Regions from separate parts of the Homo sapiens genome. Here region 2 is linked to region 1. Evidence: promoter capture Hi-C in human tissues and cell types (Jung and others, 2019). All regions are on one chromosome and are shown on one strand. The core of a region is centred on a gene start or on the middle of the fragment in contact, and the rest is flanking DNA. Distances in the headings are between cores, read along the strand shown.

The links. The method cuts DNA at HindIII sites, captures the fragments that hold promoters and counts their contacts. A contact is called where the count stands out against the background at its distance.
Region 2: the fragment with the promoter of ZNF792 here is called in contact with the fragment with the promoter of FXYD1 in region 1 in 1 of the 25 tissues and cell types used here (adrenal gland).

What each region holds. Positions count from the first base shown.
Region 1 is chr19:35,135,917-35,140,387 of GRCh38, forward strand. It overlaps FXYD1 (FXYD domain containing ion transport regulator 1), which reads left to right and starts at 2,908. Exons shown (of 8, transcript NM_021902.4): 1 at 2,908-2,978; 2 at 4,160-4,224. The coding sequence starts at 4,164. The HindIII fragment of the contact is 30,870 bases long and covers 1,132-4,471 here.
Region 2 is chr19:34,962,467-34,966,710 of GRCh38, forward strand. It overlaps ZNF792 (zinc finger protein 792), which reads right to left and starts at 1,763. Exons shown (of 4, transcript NM_175872.5): 1 at 1,164-1,763. The coding sequence starts at 1,196. It overlaps LOC124904699 (a long non-coding RNA gene), which reads left to right and starts at 960. Exons shown (of 2, transcript XR_007067236.1): 1 at 960-1,207. RefSeq lists silencers at 1,105-1,154, 1,265-1,524. The HindIII fragment of the contact is 10,198 bases long and covers 1-4,244 here.

The DNA of each region.
Region 1 (4,471 bases), core at 1,658-4,157:
TCAAACCCAGGCATCCGGCTCCAGGTTATTTTGCATTCTTTCTTTGGAGATCAGAGTTCATGGATAGATGGATAATTGGTTGTTTTAATCTGGACTAAATTTTAGTCATTTGGATAGATTCTGTCCACTAAATAAGAAACATAAGTAAATGACACTTGTTAGCTAAGATGAAATAGTAGTAATGTTTATACTCACTCAGCCTTCACAGCCACCCTGTGAGATGGGCAGTACTGCTATCCCTGCTTTACAGATGGGGAAACTGAGGCACAGGGAAGTTATGTGATTAGTTTCCTGGCTCTAGTCAGCTCTAAACCTAACCCCTAGGCTGTACCACCTCATCGCCTGGGGACGAGACTCATCCTGTGATTGAGGAATGCATGCAGCCTCTCTTGACACTGACGCCCACGCCCAGAAGCCTCGTTGGAGGATAAGGGGGCTTAACAGCTTGGAGGTCATGCAGATCTGGGTTCCAGGCCCAGTCCTGTGTGGCCTCAGTTTTCCCATCTGTCAAACGGGGACAATCGTGGCACCCGCTTCCCAGTTGTGGAGAGGACTCAGGTGATGGAGGCAACTCATCCTTTTGGGGTTCAGCACAAGGTGGGCATCCCACAGTGGTCGGCAAGCTTGGGGGTGGGCTCCGGATCCAGCTCCTAGAGGAGCAGACCCCAGCAGCTTGTGGTTTGAGCCATGCCCGTCAGCTCTCAGTTTCCTTCACTGACTATTGGGTATGATAAACAGGGTCCCTGAAAGTGAAGTTGGAGAGCTGAGTGCCAGGGGCACAGAGGGATCTGAACCCACTCTCATAGGGTGCCCAGCCCAGCAGTCCAGTTCACAAGGAGGAGGATGACAAGGACAATAATAATAGGCCAGGCACGGTGGCTCATTTCTGTAATCCCACATTTTGGCAGGCTGAAGTGGGAGGATCGCTTGGGGCCAGGAGTTCAAGACAAGCCTGGGCAACATAGAGAAACCCCGACTGTACAAAAAATTAAAAAATTAGCCAGGCATGGTGTCGCACGCCCATAGTCCCAGCTACTCAGGAAGCTGAGGTGGGAGAATCACTTGAGCCCATGAGGTTGAGGCTACAGTGAGCTATGATTGTGCCATTGCACTTCAGCCTGGGTGACAGAGCAAGACCCGGTCTCAAACAAACAAACAAAAAATGAAGTTAATCATAAGACAATGTCAAGTTCAGAGACCTCTGAGCCCTGTCCAGGATTATACACGTGATCTTAGTGATTTTTCCATTTTGGAGCATGTGAAAATGAGGCACAGAGCTGCTCAAGTTCACACAACCAGGAGTGCAGTGCCTGGGCCATTCCAGGTTTCCCTGTCACCAGGACCTGTAAACCTGGCCTGCCCATGGGGACGCCAGGTGTGTTGTCCCCGACAAGAGCTCAGGGGAAGGAAAGTGTGGGGTTAAATACATATCTGTGGTTTTGGAATGTGTGAACATGCAAGTGTGTCAGCCTGCGCATCTGTCACCGTGGCCAACCATGTGCCTGTTTGCTCAAGCATAGGGTGTGAACCAGTGTGTGTGTTTCTGCTTTTGTGGGTATGTGTGAGAGCGGCGGGTTGTCCTTGATGGTGTTTCTGCTTGTGTATCTGTGCCCATGGAAATCTGTCTGTGTGTACACAAGCTTGTTGGCCTTCCTATCTTTGGGACCATGTAGGAGTGCTGGCTGCATGTCTGTACCTTTGGGGTTTTTTTGTTTTGTTTTTGTTTTTGAGACAGAGTCTCGCTCTGTTGCCCAGGCTAGAGTGCAGTGGCATGATCTCAGCTCACTGCAAGCTCTGCCTCCCGGGCTCAAGTGACTCTCCTGCCTCAGCCTCCGGAGTAGCCGTGATTACAGGCGCACGCCACCACACCCAGCTAATTTTTGTATATTTTTTTAGTAGAGACGAGCTCTCGTCGGGTTGGCCAGGCTGGTGTTGAACTCCTGGCCTCAAGTGATCCTCCCGCCTTGGCCTCCCAAAGTGCTGGGAGTACAGGTGTGAGCCACCGTACCTGGCCATGTTTGGCCATGCATCTTAGAATGCATTTATGTGCGGTGTGCACATACTTGTGTGTTTCTGTATGGCCATTTGTGGGTGGGTCTTCACATAAACATGCATTTTTGTGGCCAGTTTGTGAGTGTAGATGGTGATGTGGCTATGTCTTTGACTGTATCTCTGTGTGGCCATCCATCTACATGAGCGTGCGTGGGTCTGTGTAGACATAAATGTGCTTGTTCTGGTATTTTGTGACTGGCATAAAAGGTGTTGGCTGTGTGTCCGGGTCTTTGGGTTTCTCTATCAGTGTGTCATTCTGTGTGTGTCTGCTTCTATGGATGTACATACATACATGGTTTTGTCTGGTTTTGTACCTGTATATCTGGGTCTTTGGGATTGTGTGTGGGTGTGTGTGTGTGGTGCATTTCTGGGGATCTCACCACAGCAGATAGCGCACATGCGCGCGCACACACACACACACACACACACCTCCCTCCCGTCCTCTAAAACAGCCCTGTTAAGGACCTCACGGAGCACTGGGATCGGGGGTCAGTGGGCTCCTGGGCAGTCAGGCTGGGTGACCTTCGGCCCTGGCTGGACCCAGTTCCCAGGGGGCAGCCGCCTCAGCCCAAAAGCTCTTGGAGGCGTGTGTGTTTGTGTGTGTGTGTGTTCACAACCCTGTCCTCCACAATCCTCCTAGCCTCTCCAGCCTGCCTGCTGGCTGCCTGCTGCTGCTCTCTCTGAACTGAGAGAGTTAACCAAGCGGGCCAGGGCAGTCTGGGCTGGGGGCCGCCCCCTGGCCCCCCTCCAGCCCCAGCTCCAGTTTCAGCTGCTGGTTGGGGAGGGCATGGGTGGGGTGGGGCTGGGAGGGGAGGCTGCTGGGGGCGGCGCGTCCAGCTCTGGGCCAGGGGGTCCAAAGTGCTCAGCCCCCGGGGCACAGCAGGACGTTTGGGGGCCTTCTTTCAGCAGGGGACAGCCCGATTGGGGTGAGCGTCCCCCACTCCTTCCCTCCAGGCCTCACCCCTGGTCTGGCTGGGCCGCCTATTTTGGGAGCAGGAGTGGCCAGCCCGAGGCTTCCCAGGCAGGCCAACCCAAGAGGGAGGGAGTGTGGTTGAGGCAGTGGGTTCTGCAGGGTGGGATGTGGGTGACTCCTCCCTGCCCTGCTGGTGCGTGTGCACCCTGGCAGGGTGTGGAGTTGGGACACACACGTGTGTAGGGCTGGTTGCGTCACTGCGTGGGGGCACCGGAGGCCCAGAGGAGGAGTATTGGATGCCTGACGGTGTTTACACCCCACGTCCTGCTCCAACCAGCAGTTTGGGGAGAGGTTGTTGTTCATGTCCATTCCGGCCCCACTGTGTGTGTGTGTGTGTGTGTGTGTGTGTGTGTGTGTGTGTATCCCTGCCCCAGCATGTGTTTTCTATCTCTAAGGCCCACTGGGCTGGGCCTCATGTCACTTGCCTGACATCCGATTGTGAAAGATGTCACCCAGAGGCGGGCAGAGGGGCTGTCTTTTCCTTTTCTCGTTGCTGCCCAGGGAGGAGACGGGGTGACCTTTCCCACAGGGGCAGCCTGTGGCGATGTGGCAGCTGGGCCTCACCCCGGCAGGGCTGTGCGTGACCCCCTGAGTGGGGGAAGGCAGGCTGTTGCCATGGTGGCCTGAGCGAGCAGAATTCCTCCAGGGTGAAGTGGGAGATATTTATACCCGGGGTCAGGCCGCGAGCGGGCGGGCGGAGAGGGCAGGGAGCTGGGATTTCGCGGGGCACAGTGAGGCCGGGCATGTAGGCAGGTGGGACTTGGGCGTGCCCTGCTGTCTCCTGCTCTGTGTTTGTGTGAGGCAGCGCCTCCTCTGCCCTGCCAGGGTAGGTCTGGGAATCGGGGGCCTGCTGCGGGAGGTGGAGGCCCAAGGGAGGCCCCCCGGGGACTGTGTGTCTCACCCCCGTCCCTGCTACGTTGTGTTGTTGTGTGATCCCATCGTGGAGGTTGTTTTGGTGACACTGTGTCCCCACGAAGCTGGGGATACCCGTTTCTCTAGCTTGGAGCCACCAAGATAGAGGACAAACACTTCTGTGATTCAGTCCCCAGACTGTCTCTGACTTAATCCCTTGGGTTCAAGCCCTATGTGGGAGAGCAAGGGCACACACTGCCTAATCCGTGGTGTCCCCCCCAGGACAATGGCGTCTCTTGGCCACATCTTGGTTTTCTGTGTGGGTCTCCTCACCATGGCCAAGGCAGGTGAGTGCAGGGGAGGCTGCCCGCTACCCACCTCAGCCCCAGGGGTGGCGGTGGGGACCGAAGAACCAAGTTGGAGACCCCAACCTAGACTAAGTCGGCTGGGGTACCAAGAAGTTTGGGGGTCTCCACGTGGGGTCCAGTCACAGGCTGGTATTTGGGGGAGGGGAGAGGAAGCCCCAGATCAGGCAAAGATGGGGTGGGATGGGGCTGAATCCCCGATGGGATAACTGGGTCACAGACAGCCTGC
Region 2 (4,244 bases), core at 513-3,012, 170 kb before region 1:
TCAGAAGCAGGAGCAAAAATGAGGAAAGCTGTCTGTTATTAATCAAACCCTGGCCATTTGGGACTGCTCATTACAGAAGTTATTGTTTTTACTTCCTGGATTGTCAGTCCAGATAGCAATCTGGCTTCCTGTGGGTCTGACAGACAGCAGGCTGGCTTCCTGCTGTATGGGTTGTTTATTGTAGATAAGGGGGTTGGTTTCCTGGGCAGGTTCTGGGGCAGAGTTCTATTTGTATACATGATCTGGCCATTGTTCGAATGAATATCCAGTCTCTCATTACCTTAACAACTCCCTCAGAACACCCGAACTGTGTGTTCAGCGGCCCACTCTTCAACTCCATTTGGGGGTCTCTGGGACATCACAGGCTCAACTTGGCCAAAACCTAACTTCTACTGCTTCCATGGAAAATTCCTCCTAAAACCAACTTCTCAGTTCATAAAGCTGGATTCATCAAACCAAAAACCATGGATTCTTCCCTCCTCTTTCTCACCCTCCACATCGGAAAATTTGGTCAGCTTGACTTAAAAGACATCAAGTTCCCAATCACTTCCTCTACCTCCAGTCCTCACTCTGGTCCGGCCAGCCGCAGCACTGGCCTGGGCTATTCCATTAGGCTACTCCTTGGCATCCCTGCTTGCGGCTCACTCCATATTCAGTTCTCCACTGTGCATCCACAGGGAGCCTGTTAAGACCTGAGTCACAGCATCTTCCTCCTCTGCCCTAAACCTTCCATGGCTCCCAACACCCTCAGAACAGAGGCCCAGCTCTGCCGTTCTGAGCTGTCTTCAGCCCACCTGCTCTCTGGTTCCAGCAGACATAATATTAATAACACTGACCTGGGTGGGGTTCCTTGAACACTCCCAACTCAGTCTCCACACCGTGCCCCACCCCACCCCCAAGCTTTTGCGCACGCTGGTTCCTGTGCCTACAAAGCCCTTTCTCCCTCCATCCCATTACATTTCAGCAACGGAAGCCACTTTATATAAACCCTGCCCTGATTCAGGATCCTAGCTGGGAGCAACTCCCTTCCAGGGTCCCCTGACTCAAAAGCAAGGAAATGGGAAAGGCGAAAAGTCCTAGAACAAAGCCATCTTTTGCGTCTCAACACCGAGAACAGAAGCGTGGGGGGCCGACAGCGAAGGGCCTAACGTCCAAGCACTCACCTGCGCGGGGTCCCGCAGCGCCGCCGCTGCCATCGGAGTCTGTGGTCAGAGCAGGGCCCCACGGTGCGGGAAACCACGGGGCGGGGGTAGGGGGTCTCGCAGGCTGAGGCTACCACCCACCTGGCCGTGCCCCAGACGAGGTGTGACCCCGGGCTGAGGGTCGCACTCCTAGCCTCAGTCTCCCCCGTGCAAAATGCGCAAGGGGCCCGGGGCGCAGGCTCCGGGGGCGCCGAGAGCGCGCAGCTCCGCTGGGTACCCCCGTTGCAAGGGGTCACGGCTGGTGCAAAGGCGCGGAGGGGGTCCCGGCCTCACTGTCCCCCTCGCGGTCCGGGAAAGCCGGCGGGGCAGCTTCACGGGCGTAGCCCCAGCCGCCCCGCCCCCAACTCGGGGTCCCCAGCTCCTGGGGACTCAGCCTCCCCGCCGGGAAATGACCTGCGAGGCTGCAGTGCAGGAAGTTCCGGCCCCCACCGTGGCGGCCGGGAGAGTTGCCCTCTCCCGTACTGTCATTGGCCTGGCGCCAGCCGCTGGTGCACAGGCAGGGCCTGGGGATCGCGAGTTTCTGCCCAGCCTCTCGTCAGGCTGAGGGTCCAGGGCGGGAAGGAGAGCGGATCTCGTCGGGTCTCCACCGCCGCCGCCTGCAGCCCTCGGGCCTTCCCCTTAAAGGGGCCGCTCCCGAGCCTGCAGCCGCCCGCGCTAAACCCCGCCCACCCTCCGAGGTCCAGGAGGAGAGCCCCAGTGCTCTTCCTGCGCGTGTGGGCATCGGCCAGCCGCTTCACCCCTAAGGGACCTAAATTCACACTGGAAAATGGGGATAGTACCCAATGGGCGGGGTCTTTGCGTTGTAATATTAAATGTCGCTCTGATTCAGGGCTTCTCAAACCAGCAACATCAGCATCACCTGGGGACTGGCTGAAAATGCAGGTTCTGGGGCAACAACTTAAATCTAAGGACTCAGAAATTCTGGGGATGGGATTCAGCCTTCTCTACTTTTTGCGGGGGGGGCGGGGGGGATGGGTCTCGTTCTGTTGTCCAGGCTGGAGTGCAGTGGCCTGATCATAGCTCACTGCAGCCTCCATCTCGGGCTCAAGCTATCCTCCTGCCTCAGCCTACCAGGTAGATGGGATACAGGCGTGCACCATCATACACAGCTAATTTTAAAATTTTTTGTAGAGACTGGATCTCCCTGTGATGCCTAGGCTGGTCTCAAACTCCTGAGCTCAAGTGATCCTCTCACCTCGGCCTCCCAAAGTGTTGGGAATTGCAGGAGTGAGCCATGGTGCCAGGCCTCCTTCTCTGTTTTAACAAGCCCTCTGGGGACTCCAATGCTGGCTCCAACTTTACAGCAGGGACTCTCATTGAAATCCAGTAAATAAAATGGGAAAAATAACACTACATTGTTGCAGGAAGTCAGGGACCCCGAACGGAGGGACCTGCTGAAGCCGTGACAGAAGAACATTAATTGTGAAGATTTCATGGACATTTATTAGTTCCCCAAATTAATACTTTTATAATTTCTTATGCCTGTCTTTACTGCAATCTCTGAACATAAATTGTGAAGATTTCATGGACATGTATCGCTTCCCCAATCAATACTCTTGTGATTTCCTATGCCTGACTTTACTTTAATCTCTTAATCCTGTCATCTTCGTAAGCTGAGGATGTATGTCATCTCAGGACCCTGTGATGATTGCGTTAACTGCACAGATTGTTTGTAGGGCATGTGTGTTTGAACAATATGAAATCTGGGCACCTTAAGAACAGGATAACAGCGATTTTCAGGGAACAAGGGAGATAACCTTAAAGTCTGGCTGCCTGTGGGACGGGCAGGACAGAGCCATATTTCTCCTATTACCAAAAACGGGTAAGAGAAATATCGCTGAATTCTTTCCCCAGTAAGGAATATTAATAATTAACAGCCCTGGGAAAATAATGCATTCCCAGGGCAGTGCCTCTAAAATGGCTGCCCTGGGAGTGTCTGCCTTATGCACATGTAGATAGGGATGAAACACACCCTAGTCTCCTGCAGCGCCCCCAGGCTTGCTAGGATTAGGAAATTCCAGCCTGGCGAACTCTAGTCAGACCAGTTCTCTGCTCTTGAACCCTGTTAAGATGTTTATAAATGACAATGCGTGCACAGCAGGACATGGAAGCTCATGAGTGATTCTAGTTTTGCCCTGACCTTGTGATCTCGCCCTGACCTTCTGCCTTGTGATCTTTTGTTGCCCTTAAAGCATGTGATCTCTGTGACCCACACCCTATTCGTACACTCCCTCCCCTTTGAAAATTGCCAATAAAAACTTGCTGGTTTTATGGCTCGGGGGCATCACGGAACCTGCTGACATGTGATGTCTCCCCCAGACACCCAGCTTTAAAATTTATCTCTTTTGTACTCTTTCCCTTTATTTCTCAGACCAGCCGACACTTAGGGAAAATAGAAAAGAACCCACATTGAATTATCGGGGGTGGGTTCCCCCGATACTACATGTCATATGGTGAAACCACCTTTGTAAAAATTATAACTGAGAAAATTATGACAGTGAGAGATCTGACCTAACCAACTCCATCTTGCTTCTAACCTCCAAGCTGTCCTTGTTCGTTCCTGAGCATAGGCCTAACTAACTTTGGGAGAAACTCAGTTTACAGTTTAACTTTGAAGCAAAGATAACAGCCCTTTCCCTCTAGGCCGGGCATGGTGGTTCACCCCTGTAATCCCAGCACTTTGGCAGGCCGAGGCAGGCGGATCACGAGTTCAGGAGATCGAGACCATTCTGGCTAACATGGTGAAACCCTGTCTCTACTAAAAATACAAAAAATTAGCCAGGTGTGGTGGCGGGCACCTGTAGTCCCAGCTACTCAGGAGGCTGAGGCAGGAGAATGGCATGAACCCCGGGAGGTAGAGCTTGCAGTGAGCTGAGATCGCCTCCAGCCCGGGCAACAGAGCGAGACTCCATCTCAAAAACAAAAACAAACAAAAAAACCCAGCCCTTTCCTGAAACAAACCCTCTTCTTGTCTGGGGACCAGACTGCCTTTGTAGGATTAACAAAAGCCACAAGATTAGAGAGTATGGTTTAGGAGTCATG